2 separate regions of the Homo sapiens genome follow, and region 2 is linked to region 1. Evidence: promoter capture Hi-C in 16 types of primary human blood cells and fetal thymus (Javierre and others, 2016). All regions are on one chromosome and are shown on one strand. The core of a region is centred on a gene start or on the middle of the fragment in contact, and the rest is flanking DNA. Distances in the headings are between cores, read along the strand shown.

What was found. The method cuts DNA at HindIII sites, captures the fragments that hold promoters and counts their contacts. A CHiCAGO score of 5 or more calls a contact.
Region 2: a fragment that was not itself captured here is called in contact with the fragment with the promoter of APMAP in region 1 in 3 of 17 cell types (non-activated CD4 T cells, naive CD8 T cells and activated CD4 T cells); the score reaches 6.9 in non-activated CD4 T cells.

The regions. Positions count from the first base shown.
Region 1 is chr20:24,988,761-24,995,211 of GRCh38, reverse strand. APMAP (adipocyte plasma membrane associated protein) reads left to right here and starts at 2,461. Exons shown (of 9, transcript NM_020531.3): 1 at 2,461-2,618. The coding sequence starts at 2,524. RefSeq lists enhancers at 1,907-2,407, 2,320-2,559, 2,690-2,769, 2,790-2,849, 2,408-2,908 and 1 more. The HindIII fragment of the contact is 12,703 bases long and covers 1-3,503 here.
Region 2 is chr20:23,926,067-23,932,254 of GRCh38, reverse strand. No RefSeq gene overlaps it. Among named protein-coding and RNA genes, the nearest start is that of CST5, 49 kb to the right of the region's middle. The HindIII fragment of the contact is 4,392 bases long and covers 1,977-6,188 here.

The DNA of each region.
Region 1 (6,451 bases), core at 1,212-3,711:
CTTTTGTTGAGATAAATGCCCTCCACGTGGGCCAGTGTTCCGATGGAAGTGAGCCTCATCCCCAGTGCCAGGGTTGGGTGTGGGTTTTGGTTGGTCTCACTCAGCGCTTCTCAACCAAGGGCTGTTTTGTCCTCCAGGGGCTATCTGTCAATGTCTGGCAACATTTTTTATCATCACGACTAGGTGGGATGCTACTGCCATCTAGTGGGGGAAGCCCAGGGATGCTGCTGAAACACCAGCGCACAGGAGAGGCCCCCCTCCGCCTCCTAACAGAATTATCTGGCCCAAAATATCAGTGGTGCTGAGAAACCTGATCAAATTAATCATAGTGGTCCCATTCCTCTGCCAACAACTGGCATCAGCACGATGAGAAACAAAGTCGGTCTGGTTGGAAGGTGGGGTGGGAGAACTGATAACTGAAACAAATACAACAAGCAAAGCGTGCTTCACCGTGACTTGAAAACAGAAAAACTGTACTGAACCCGTGCTATGCAGCACAAATGATCTAGCTCAGACCACTGTAACACCAACTACCTACGTGCTTCATGATAAGCCCACGAGCTGACCTCCTGATAACTCCGAATGGACTTACATGTCCCAGAGCTAAGGCCACGGTTCCTCCAGTGACTCCCGTTGTTAACGGATTCTGACCAACCCTGGGCAAGACTATCGATGGACTAACTCCAGCCCCCAAACCCCACAAGGAGTCTCCCATGACTCCCCCATTTTGAGGAACCTCACCGGTCCTCTGGTGCATTTCTTTGCTGCAGCAAGTTCAGTAAACCCAACTTACTGCCATTATTTTTCTTCTGAATGTGTCCCTGGGTGTTTGCAGTGCGTGGGCTTTAACACTGGGCATGGAACACAAATAGCTCCAATGCAGTGAGTTCAATGTTATGGCTGGGACATGTTTAAAGTGCCTTGAAGACAAAGAGGAAGATGTTCTGCTTGGGAAACTGGGAGAAGAATTTTCAGCAAGGATACTTGAAGTGGGTCCTGAATGATAAAAATAATTGGCCAAGTGGAGGTGAAGGAGAGTGTATCACAGGAAGAAGGAACCTCAAGGACAAAGGCAGCCAGGCATGAGATTAGACATGTTAAGCCATCCTGAATGTCTGAAATGGGGGGTGGGGAGCAAGAGGGATAGTCCAGACAGGCAGGAAGGCGTGAGATCATACAGTACTTTGTTAACACTATCCCTGATTTAATAGCTGTATTGGCTATTCTCAATGACACAGAATGAAGTAAAATGTTGTCGAGGCCTGAATTATTACCTGGGATCTCTGGAGAACTGGATTTGCACAGCTCTCCACTTCCCTCAAGCTGGTTCTTCCGCTCTTTGAATGAATAAATAAAAAGCATTCACATGGAATTCTAGTGCCATCTAGCATTTAAAAAGGTAAAAGCCTCCAAGAGGAAATTATTTCTTAACACTGCATTTTGAACATGGCTTTTCCAGAGATAATTCCTCGTGCCACTGGTAACGGGCTTTGATTTCTTCTGCCTGTCACTTCCTCCAGATTCGATTCCTCTTTGAATCTCAAATGCTCTCACAAGATTCAGCTCTTCCCTTTTGAAGCAATTATTACGTTTGATAATTTTACGTCTATTTTATGATGATGATCTGATTAAAGTCATCTTTCCCACTAGTTTAATTTCTATAAGGAGGGGCCTTGTCTGTGATTTGCCCACCATCGTCTCCCAGCACCTGGGAACATTTCTGGTTTCCTGCAATACTGTTGAAAGAACAATGCCTCTCTATGCTTTCTTAAACTTTGTTAGTGATAATTTCTACTTCTACCTGGACTTTACTTAAGGGTAATCCTTAATAAACTTTATCAAAACTTAATAAACTTTATCAAAACTTAATAAACTTTATCAAATGTCTGTTGTAATCGTCACAAAAAGATTTAATACTCAACATCTGGCCTTAACCAGAGGGAAACATTTTCTAGCCCAAGTTTTCCCCTTAACCGGCTGAGTCGGGGAAGGATGTAATTTTCAGGCAGAGGTGACTTCGTTCCAAGGGTGTGAATGCATTATTTTTGACGCTGCCTGTAAGAGCAGGGTCGCTGACACTGAATAAACAGCGCTATCCTCTCCAACGATAAAAGTGGCCAACATCTCGTGCTAGCAATTCCCAAGTGCGTCATGAGCATCCCCGTCCTCAGAAACGTGAGACGAAGGCGGCATGCGCAGGCACTGGGCTAGACGAGCCCGAGGTTGAACCACTCGCGTTCTGGGCCCCGGAGTCCGAGACAGGCGGGGACCCCGGCAGCTCCCGGTGCTATCTCTGAGCGGGTTCCGAGCCCCACTTCCGGGCGGTCAGAATTAGCCTCAGAGCGCCGAGCAACGACGCGCCGGGGACCTCCCGCCCATGAGGCCGGAAGGGGCGGGGAGAACGCTGCGGAATGGTCCCTGGGCGCAACGTCATTTCCGCGTACGGGGGAGGGCGGGCCTGGAGTCTGAGCCGGCGCCGCTCAGTGTGAGGTGGTTTCTGCGGGTGAGGCTGGCGCCCGTACCATGAGCGAGGCGGACGGGCTGCGACAGCGCCGGCCCCTGCGGCCGCAGGTCGTCACAGACGATGATGGCCAGGCCCCGGAGGCTAAGGACGGCAGGTAGGGCGGACTCCCAGACTGGGCGCTGGAGCCGGGCCGCTAGGAGTGGAGGGCGACCCTCTTGGACAGCGGCGACGGCAGTAACAGTAACCTGGGGATGCGGTGCCGAGCGCGTTGTCAGAGTCCTCTCGTTTCATCCCCAAGAAAAACTCATTTTTCCGAGGAAGCAGGCTCCGACAAGGCGGATGTACCTGCCAGGTCTTTCAGGTTCGGGTGCACCCTGCGCCCAGTCGCCGCGTTGTCCTCGGCTCTCCGGACCCGAGACCGCCTCGCGCCGCTCCTTTGCCTTCCCTCCCTCACTCCTGCCCCACCCTGCATAGCGGTTGCTTCCTCGCCTTTCCCTCGCTCCCCTCGCGCTGTCCTTCCTTTGGCTTAAATGATCCCCCTGAGCACAGCTACTTGGCCGGGGCCCTGCGTGTTCCTGGTTCCCCGCTCGCAATTTCCCGAAGGGAGGAGGTCCCACGAGATGCTGGGGTCCTGCCTCGTTATCCGGCGAAGAGATGGCTTCTACACTTGCTCTTCTGCACCTGCCCCCCTCACGCTGCGTGACCAGTCCTCACCGCGGTTCTTGGAAAGAGTGGAGAACAGTAGTGACATTGTAGGCAATTTTTGTGAGAATTCAGCCTGGCAGTTTTTCCTGATAGGGATGGAGAAACATAGGAAACTGTAGTTGTTGACACCTAAGAAATATCAGGTTTTGCCCTTTGCCTCCTCTCCCATCTTTCAGAATATAAGAATGCTGTGTTTTGTTAGCTAAAAACTGAATCATGATTCGTAAGCATAGATTTCAATATAAGATACTTAAAATTCACTTTTCAATTCTGTGTCCTGAATTTCATAACTTTTAAGTTTCAGGGAGAATCAAGAGGCCCCATAGACCAAGCTTGAAGTTGTGGGACTGATTGACTTATATTTGATAGAAATACTGGAAATATTTGTTCATCAGTAGTGTGCCAAGAGGTGGTGGGGTACATATGAATGAGAGGCAGTTTTTGCCCCTGTAGACTGAGTTTATTGACTGATGATAAGAGGAACACATTTGAAGGAGAGCGATGGCAGGAAGGAGCATTTAGGCTCTAGAGAGGCAATTTAGAGAGAAGACTTTGCGGTGATAGTTGACTCCTTGGGCCAGTGAAAAGATCGGGAAGATGCTCCCATATATCCTGACCAACCATCCTGCGTTGCCCTGGACTGGGGTTTCCAAGGATGTAGAACTTTCAGTGCTAAACCTGGGCAAACTGGGACAATCTGATCACCCTACTTACTGTGAATATTGTGAATTAATCATCTGTTGATGATTGAGGAGCCATTTAGAATGGACATGCAAGAATTGGCAACACTTTCCTACAGAAATCTTGAAAACAAGGCATTTTTACCTGAGAAATGGAAGAGCAGTGGCCTGAGTTTGTCATTAGGTGCAGTGTGTTGAAAACCAGGGCCTACAGCCCCTGAGGGCACCGGTTAGGTAGTCCCAACTCTCAAGTTGGCTGGCTCACACTTCTGGCCCCAGGGCAAGCAGGCAGACTTAATTGTTTTTTTCAGGTTCTCTGTGGGGATTTCTTCCTTAATGAGTAAGTAAATCTGATTCTAAAGTCATCTTTTACTGCCTGATCTTTTCCAGTGTGCCTTTTACATTTATGTTTACTTATTTCCTTGACTTCCCTGTCCATGAACATTGTTCCTGTTTCCCTGTGTTTGTCCTTCTTGTTTGTTTATCCCTTTTCTGTATATCTGTAATGATCTCTTTCAAAGTGAGGTCTTGTCACCACCCTTCCTTTCCGCAATTATTATTGTAACATGGTAGCTGTTTTTCTTATTTTTCTTCTGCATTTCTCCTATATTTTTCATTTATTTTGTGGTCATTTCTAGTAGTTCATGTAATAGTATTCTTGATTACCTTAAAAGTCGAGGGTTCAACATAAGCCAGGAAAGCCTGTGTATAGTGGGCGAAGTAAAGGAATCTAAATTCAGAAGTAAAAACACGAAACTATTAGAATAAACTTTAGCACTTTAGATGTGCTAAATAGAATAAAGGAAGCCTTGAAAGACATATTACTAAACTGACAGAACTAAGACATAGATTTTAGCAGTGGTAGGGACCCCTAGTAATACGTTGGGTGGTCTCCCAACTCTTGGCACAAAAGGTGGGTGTTTGCTTTGTTTTGCTGATGAGATCATTGAGGTCTATGTGTGTGAGGTGGTTTATATGAAGTTACAGAGAATAGAGTCAAAAGAGAAATGAAAATGAATGAAGAAGGATAGAACTGGCAGCTGGACAATGACTGAGAAGTGTATTTTTAAAATTATGCTTTGGAAATAAGACTTTATGCCAAAGCTCTTGAATTACTGTATTTGAAATATAATGGAGAATTTGGTTGGTAAATTCTTTTATTCAGTGTGGAACATAGATGAGCTAAGTACTTTAACATACCGGTGCAAGCTTATAATTATTATTTGACATTGATTTCCCGAAATGCTTTAGAAACTTAATTGTACTCTGTGGAACTATTCCTTTCTGTTTGAAACACAGTTCTATCTAGGAAGAGAACTGTTTAATGTCCATATGTGACTGTTTAGGGATGCAGAATAAATACATTGAGGATTTAATATGTTTCAATACATTAAATTCTGTATAATTCTCCTTTTTCAATAAACTTCTGAAGGATTTTAGTTTAATTAAAAGTCTGCTAGGTCCATTTTCCTTTTTCCTCTTGGAGACTGAAGAGTAAGGGAGGAAGTATGGAGAAACAGATTGGGCATTCACGAATTCATGAGGAGTAAGGCAGCTGGAGTGTTTGTCTCAGCTTTGCCCCAGGTGTGTATTTTCAGATGGCTTTTTAAACTTGTTTCTTGATTTCTTAATTTTTTTCAAGGATAAATTGATGAATCTAGGAGCCCCAGTTTAAAGGATTGTGAAAAATGAACAAATTCAAGATGCTGTCACTAAAAAAGATGGGTTGATGCTATCTGATTTTCTCAGGTTCCAGGGATCACCTTGACACATGAGGTTGCTGGTACCCCATGGATTTGGGGCTATCAGGTTTTCCACAACAATCACAGGTGAATTTTGATCTCTTGGAGTCTGCTTGTTGGGACTTCAGTTCAGGACCCAAGGCCCTAATGTCCTGTGTGCAGAGTTAGAGGATACCCTTCAAAATCTGCCAAATTGGCTGGTGAATCTACAGAAGATTGTGTAAATCATGGCCCAGCCAACAGCAGTTGTCAAATCCTGTTGCATCACTGTGGTTGTGCTCTTGCCTTCAGAGAGTGTAGGCAATTTCAGGGTGCAGATGTCCTCATGGAGATGGGCATCCCTCCAGGCTCTTCCGAGAGATTGGGGCAAACAAACTGATTTCTCAAACTGCGCCTGGGAACTAAGTTGCCAGCGTTCCTGGATGTGTCAGCACAGGTTGGGAACCTGCAATGCTTTGTCAGTGAAAATGGATAGGGATCGATACAGTGTTCTTTATTTAAGTTAAAAAAAGAGTAAGAGGGAGGCAGACACCGAGAAAAGACAGAAGAATTGTGGTTAACTGTGAGTTTACAGGAAGCAACACTGATGAGGGCCTGCCGAAAAGTTAATGGACCTTGGGCTAAAATAAGTGTGGCACCCAGAGCAGGGGTCCAGGAGCTGTGCTTACCTCATTTATATAACAAGCTAACTCCATTTCAAGTGCTCAGGAACCACACATGGCTAGTAGCTATTGTATTTCCATCGTTGCAGAAAGTTCTATTGGACAGTGCAGCTCAAGGAGTTTTGTTTAAATTTAAGCTAGTATTTCTAATACGTGACCACAGAACTTTCCAGTGGAGGCTGGATGCTGATCAGGTGA
Region 2 (6,188 bases), core at 2,923-5,422, 1.1 Mb after region 1:
TGATCTTTTGTGTTGTAGACAGAAACTTATTTTTACAGCAAAAGTCATCTATCTGTATATTATGGGTAGAGTGCCCCTTTACTCTAATTTTATTTCTACATTGCTTTTAAAGTCTTTTGGTGATCACTTTGGTTAAATGAATAACTATTATTTTACAATGACCTATGATTCTGTTTTGATCAACTGTCTTGAGCCTTTTAGCATCTTTGATAAATGTCCTATTAACTAATCCTTGTACTGTTAAGTTATAGGGCTTTGACTCCTAGGTCTGAAAAAGGCATCAACTCTTGCTAAATGTTGAACACTGACACTAGTCAAAGCCTCATCCTCAGAGTCAGGAGAAGGTGGCAATCAAAATGAACTGCTTTCATGAGACACAGAGCCAGAAATTAGAACAATTCAGTCCTTCTAGGCCCAGGCACTGTCGTGGAAGAGCTGAGCATGTGAGATTGTAAGGGCTGATTCTGAAGGATACGTTTAGTTACGTATGTTATTTTTTGGTGGCTGTGTGTGTCCTTACATAGACCTTTAAAAGAACTCACTACTCTTGGCCAATGCTGAAGACACAACTCAGCTTGGGAGCCTGGGGGGCTGGGCCTCCCAGGTCAGGGTGAGGCCCCTTGAATGGCAAAGGCAATTCCTTTTGAGTCACAAGAAATTCTGCAACCCTACTTTTAGGCTTTTAGTTTTTAGCTCTTAAGTTACTTAAAGGGTGTTTGAGGGGTTATGAGAAGCTGCCCAGCTCCATTGCTGTCTGGCCTAGAACATTTAATTGGCTGGAAGTCTCTTGACTGTAAGTCCCTTGGCCATAGGCTTTCCACTGAGGAACAGGATGAACCATGGCAGGAAGTGTAGTATACCACTCCAGCAATAGTATGGGACAAAATAAAGTTCTAAGACCCCCCACCAACTTAGCAAACTCACTTGTGGCCAAGGGGACCCCAGTTGCCAAGAGACAAATCTTACCTGGAAATAGGTCTTGCTCTTTGCACTGCTGAGCATACAATAGCCCCCAGAAATGGGCTGGCTCTTAGCCCCTATCCCACAACCCTTGTCTTCAGCATGAGGCAGTCAGAAAGATCAATGAACAGATTCCCCATGATTTGGAAATCGATACATAGAAAGGGGGTTGAAACTGGCCCAACTGGCCCATAGAACTGATATTTATGGTTTCTTTTGAATAAACACAGATATTGACCCTTTCAGTCTTAAAACTTGAGAAACTCACATGTGCCTTCTCTGAGTTCCTTGCTCAGGAAATCAGACTTCAGGGCTCCCAGATAGCATCAGGGAACTGACACTCACCAGATCACAGCATCTGGACAATGAGATGCCAGGACCTTCACCCATCATGATTCCTGCTTACAATTTCCTATTCCTTACACTTCCCTAATCCTGTTTTCCTGAATATGAGCACATTTCTCCCCTGCTATTTAAATCCCTGATTTTAGTCATATGAGGAGATGGATTTGAGACTGACCTTCCATCTTCTTAGCTGCAGCACCTGATTACAGCCTTCTTCCTTGACAATACTTGTTGTCTCAGTGTTTGGCTTCCTGTGCTGCAAGCAATGAATCCTAGACTAAGCCCCTGGCACTTCAGTAATAGATCTATGGGCTGGCATTTGACATCCACAGTTCTACACACATGATGTCCCAACAATCTCTAAGGACGCTCTCAAATTTTCCCTGAGGCCCAAGCCCAGACAATCTGCTCATCCTCATATCTCCTCAAGCTTAGTAATTTTCCTGCCCCGTCATGAGGCCTGGGCTAGAGTTCTGTTTTTTTCCTTCCTTCTGCACCCTCACCCCAGCCCTCAGCAAGTCCTGCCATGCCACCTCTCACAGGCATCCTGAGTCTCCTGTGCTCCACCTCTTGGCCACTGCACTGGCCCAGGTCACTCTCCTCCCTTTCCTGGATGACTACAATGTCCTCCTGACTGTCCCCCACCCTCCCATTCTCACTGACTAAAAGCTTTTTTCCCTCTGTGTGGCCATGTCAGCCTTCTAATAACATATAAGGTGTTATGCTATGTCCCAGTAAATCATTTCAAAGGCTTCTCATTGCATTTTGAATAAAATAGGAGTTCTTCCTCGTGGTGGGAACTGACATCTGCTCATCCACCAAACCCGGTCTTCTTACCTCTCCTGCCTGCCGGTCCCTGACACTCCATTCAGGAGCTTCCACAGGTTAAGATCATTTCTGCCTCAAGGTCAGTTCAGGCTGTTCTTGACCAGAAACACCCCACCCTTGGGTTGGTGCAGCTGGCTGCTTCTCCTCCTGCAGAGTCCAGCTCCCATGCCACATCCTCAGAGTGACCTTTCCTGGTCCCTCTTTCTAGATAGACAGGACGAAGGGAAGGATCAAGAGAGAGACCTAGAGGAAGATGTTACACACTTTTAACAACCAGATCTCTAGAGAACTCACTGACTATTGTGAGGACAACACCAAGCCATGAGGGATCAGAAACTATGACCCAAACACCTCCCACCAGGTTCTACCTCCAACACAGGACTGGAATTCAGCATGAGATTTGATGGGGGTGTATATTCAAACTATCTCATAAAGTAATTGTTGGAAAGACTAGAAACAAGAGGTTTAATTGTTTCCTTTTAGCAATTCCTGACTGGTGCCCATATCTGGGAGACACAAGACAGCATTTAACTCTTCCCAGATACACATAAGTGATCCTGATCGCCTGTGTGCTCTCCTCACTGCTGAGGTGCTGGACCCAAACATTACATCAGAACAGCAAAGCAATGTGGGAAGAAGAGCCCAGCTCTCCTTCATACACCACGCCCTAACCAGAAAGTGACATGCTGAAAAATAGAGAAGCCAAGGGCATGAGAAGGACCTAGGAAGGGCTACTGCTTTAGGTAAGAAAACAATATTTAAAGAAGCTGGAATCCACCTTTAGTTTCGATGAAGTGATGCAGGAGAGAAACAACAGAAGCAGGACTGGGGACTCCCATATTGGCTACCCTATTTTTGTTTGATTATTTCTCAGATATTTAGAACTTTCTAAGCCAACCTGGAGAGGGACGGGGTAAACTCAGCTCCTGACTCCTGAGCTTCAGTGCCTTCCTCTGGACACCTCATCTCAATCCAGATATTACAGGAAGCCAAATTTTCCTCAAACAGCCATCTATAAAAATCTGTATTTTCGACATCAGACTGGTCCAGGCTCACATCTCTCTCCTGGATTCTGTGCAGGGAGCGGAGGTAGACACAGGAAACAACCACAATGCACGGGGCCTCGCCTCTCACTCTGTGAGGCCCCGCCCACTCTGAGGCTGGGCTTGGCCACGTGACCTGCTTTGATGAATGAGACAACGGCTGGCAGGAGTCTGCAATGGCTGGGGCCGGGCCACACCTAGGCGCTGAGCTCCTGAAATAAGATCTTGGAACTCGTCTTCATGTGAAAGCATCCTCTAACCTTCTTAAGGCTAAAAGACCACCTGGAAAGAGATGCCCACTGTGCCTGCTGAGCACATTCCCAGCCTACCTCACCTGAATGCAGCCCGCGAGTGAACCCAGCAAGACCAGCGCAAGAGCCGAGGACAGCTCCAGAGTCGTGAGAATCCATACATTACGTGACTTTCAGCTAGGAAAATTCAGGGTGGCTGCTGATGCAGCAGCAGGTAATGCATACAGGATGCTCTGAACAGCTCTCCCAGCAAAGACCCACAGTCCACCCCATGTGGGGTAGAGAGGGGGAAAATCCCCTCCCCCATAGACTGTGGTTTCTGCTGGTGTCTGCAACTGCCATGGGGCGGCTGGAGGGCAGCCCTTTCCTTCTGAATCCAGCCTACATTTCATGCTCTCCATCTGCCTTCTCACCGGCTTGCATCCTCTTTCTATAGCACTAGAACTATCAAACCCATCAAGCTGCCCCCGGAGGGTGAGCCTTTCAAAAAATCTTAAACAGGTGCAGGACCAGGTGCACTCAGGATTGTGAGCAAATTTCTAGGTGCAGAACAGTCCAGACTCTCAGCCCAAAGTTCAGGCCAGGCCAGAGCCCACTTGCCTGCAGGAGGCACAAGGGAGGGTAGGGACAGGTTTAGATGCCAAGTACTCATCAGAGTTTCAATTTAAGGACACTCGGAAGCCATGGGAGGCTGTGAACCAAGGATCACAATCTGATTTGCTGCGGTGGGTAGGACAGCACAGGAGTGGAGGCACAGAGTAGAGTGAAGATTCCTCAAAGATCAGACAGTCACAAGACATCCATGAGCGTTCTCATAGCTGTGGCAATGTGAAGAACAAAAAAAAAAAAAAAGAAAGAAAATACAACTCAGAGAATTTTACAGGACTTTAATTATTATTGTCTGGGGAAAGATGAGGAATAGAGTGGAAACATGATATATGGACAGATACATAGATTTGATACATAGATATATACATAGATTAGATAGATGAGATCAATTGATCAATCAATAGGTATGTCAGGCACTGCACTATCAACTCACAAGCATTTGATTTAGTTTTCCTGACACTAAATCTATTTGTTCAAAATACTCACTCCCTGTACCCCACTCTCCATGGCAAAGTGCACTTCTGCACCACTTCCTTTGGGCTGGGCCGTGTGATTTGCTTTAACCAAAGGAGTTTAACCAAAGGTGTGAAGTAACCAGAAGTTTGAAACAAGTTTGTGCAATTCAGCTTGCCCTCTTGCACCCTGCTCTTGCCATGCGAGAATATGAAAAATGTCAGCTATCTCCTTGGAGAAGGATCACAGATGTGGAGCAGAGCCAGCTCAGACAATCCCATTCCAGGTCAGTGACTCCCAGCTGGACTGCAGATGTGAGCAAAATAACTGGTCATTGCCATAGGCCAATGAGATCATGCAGTTCCTTATTACACAGCCTATTGTAATCATTGTCATTCCTGTTTTACAAATCAGGAAACAGAAGCACCAAGAGAATGAATATCTTGTCACAAATATATCTCTTGTCACAGCCATGGGCAAGGATGGGGCTACTAACACAGATGGGGACACTAGTCGAAGGGTAGGTCTATGGGCAAAATGAAGGTCAATGGACATACAGAACTGGTGATGCCTGCAGGACATCCAGTGATAACATCATGGGCAGGGCAATGAGGAGCTTCACTGCTGGAAGCCTGAGCTTGGTTGAGATGACTCAAGATAATTGCAATAGGGTCAACACTCTCACAATAAAAGAGAGAGAGCTCAACTATGAATATAAAAAGGGCAAGTGAGGATATATAGCCAAGGAGCAGGGAGCAGGGTTAATAGATTAAAAAAAATTACTAAGCAGAGACATCAAATGTGGGAGTTTCTTGCTAAATTGACCTAACAATATTCTTGCTAAAGGCAGGACAAAGCCTTAGACATCAAAGTTGAGAAATGAGGAACTTGGTCAGATGTTGAGGGTGATCAGATACCAAGGGTGAGGGGATTCTTTCTGAACTGACTTAGCAGGATTCTTTCCTAAACCTGGGCACTGCAGCCCTCGCAAGAGCAGGAGGTAGGGGCTGGGGACTAGGGTTGAGGCCAAGGGAAGAAGGTGGCTCAGACGAGCTTAACTAAGGTTTGGTCAAGGTGAGTCTTATCTCTGGATCCAGCCCCTCTGTGACAGGAGGAAAGGGCAGGCAGGGCCACAGGAGCAGGCAGGGCTGTCCTGATGGCCTCTGGCTCCAGCTCCAGCACTCAGTGATTGAGTTGAACAGGATTCCAACCAGGAACAGGAACCACTCTCCACAGTCACTGCACTTTGCTAAAGGAATTGATATTTAAGGTTACACAAACAGTGACAGGGAAATCCCAGCAGTGACCCAAACAGGATAAGAAAGTCTGACCACCCAGAGATGCCAAGGGGATTGCTCTCCCGCTCAGAGCCATCTGTTTCCCTTGAGGCCAGTCCCCTGCAGTCTGCAGCCCAGGGAGTCAGGCGCAGCCCAGCCTGCCCCAGCTAGCAACCCGAGTTCCTGGAGGCCTCTCCCTGTCCTCTTCACTAGGCTGTGTGGTTCTTCAGTCACTGGCTCTGCTCTGGTGAATGCACTCCTTGAGAAAGTCAGTGGTAACTTATAATCCAAAACCACGAGCACTGTTCATATACTGGTCCCTGAGCAGAAATGTCCCAAGGATTCTCTTTTCCCCATGAAGCTCAAAACAGTCAGACCTCAGACACTGGGCTCTGCCCTCTCGTCACATTCGGCAGGGGCTG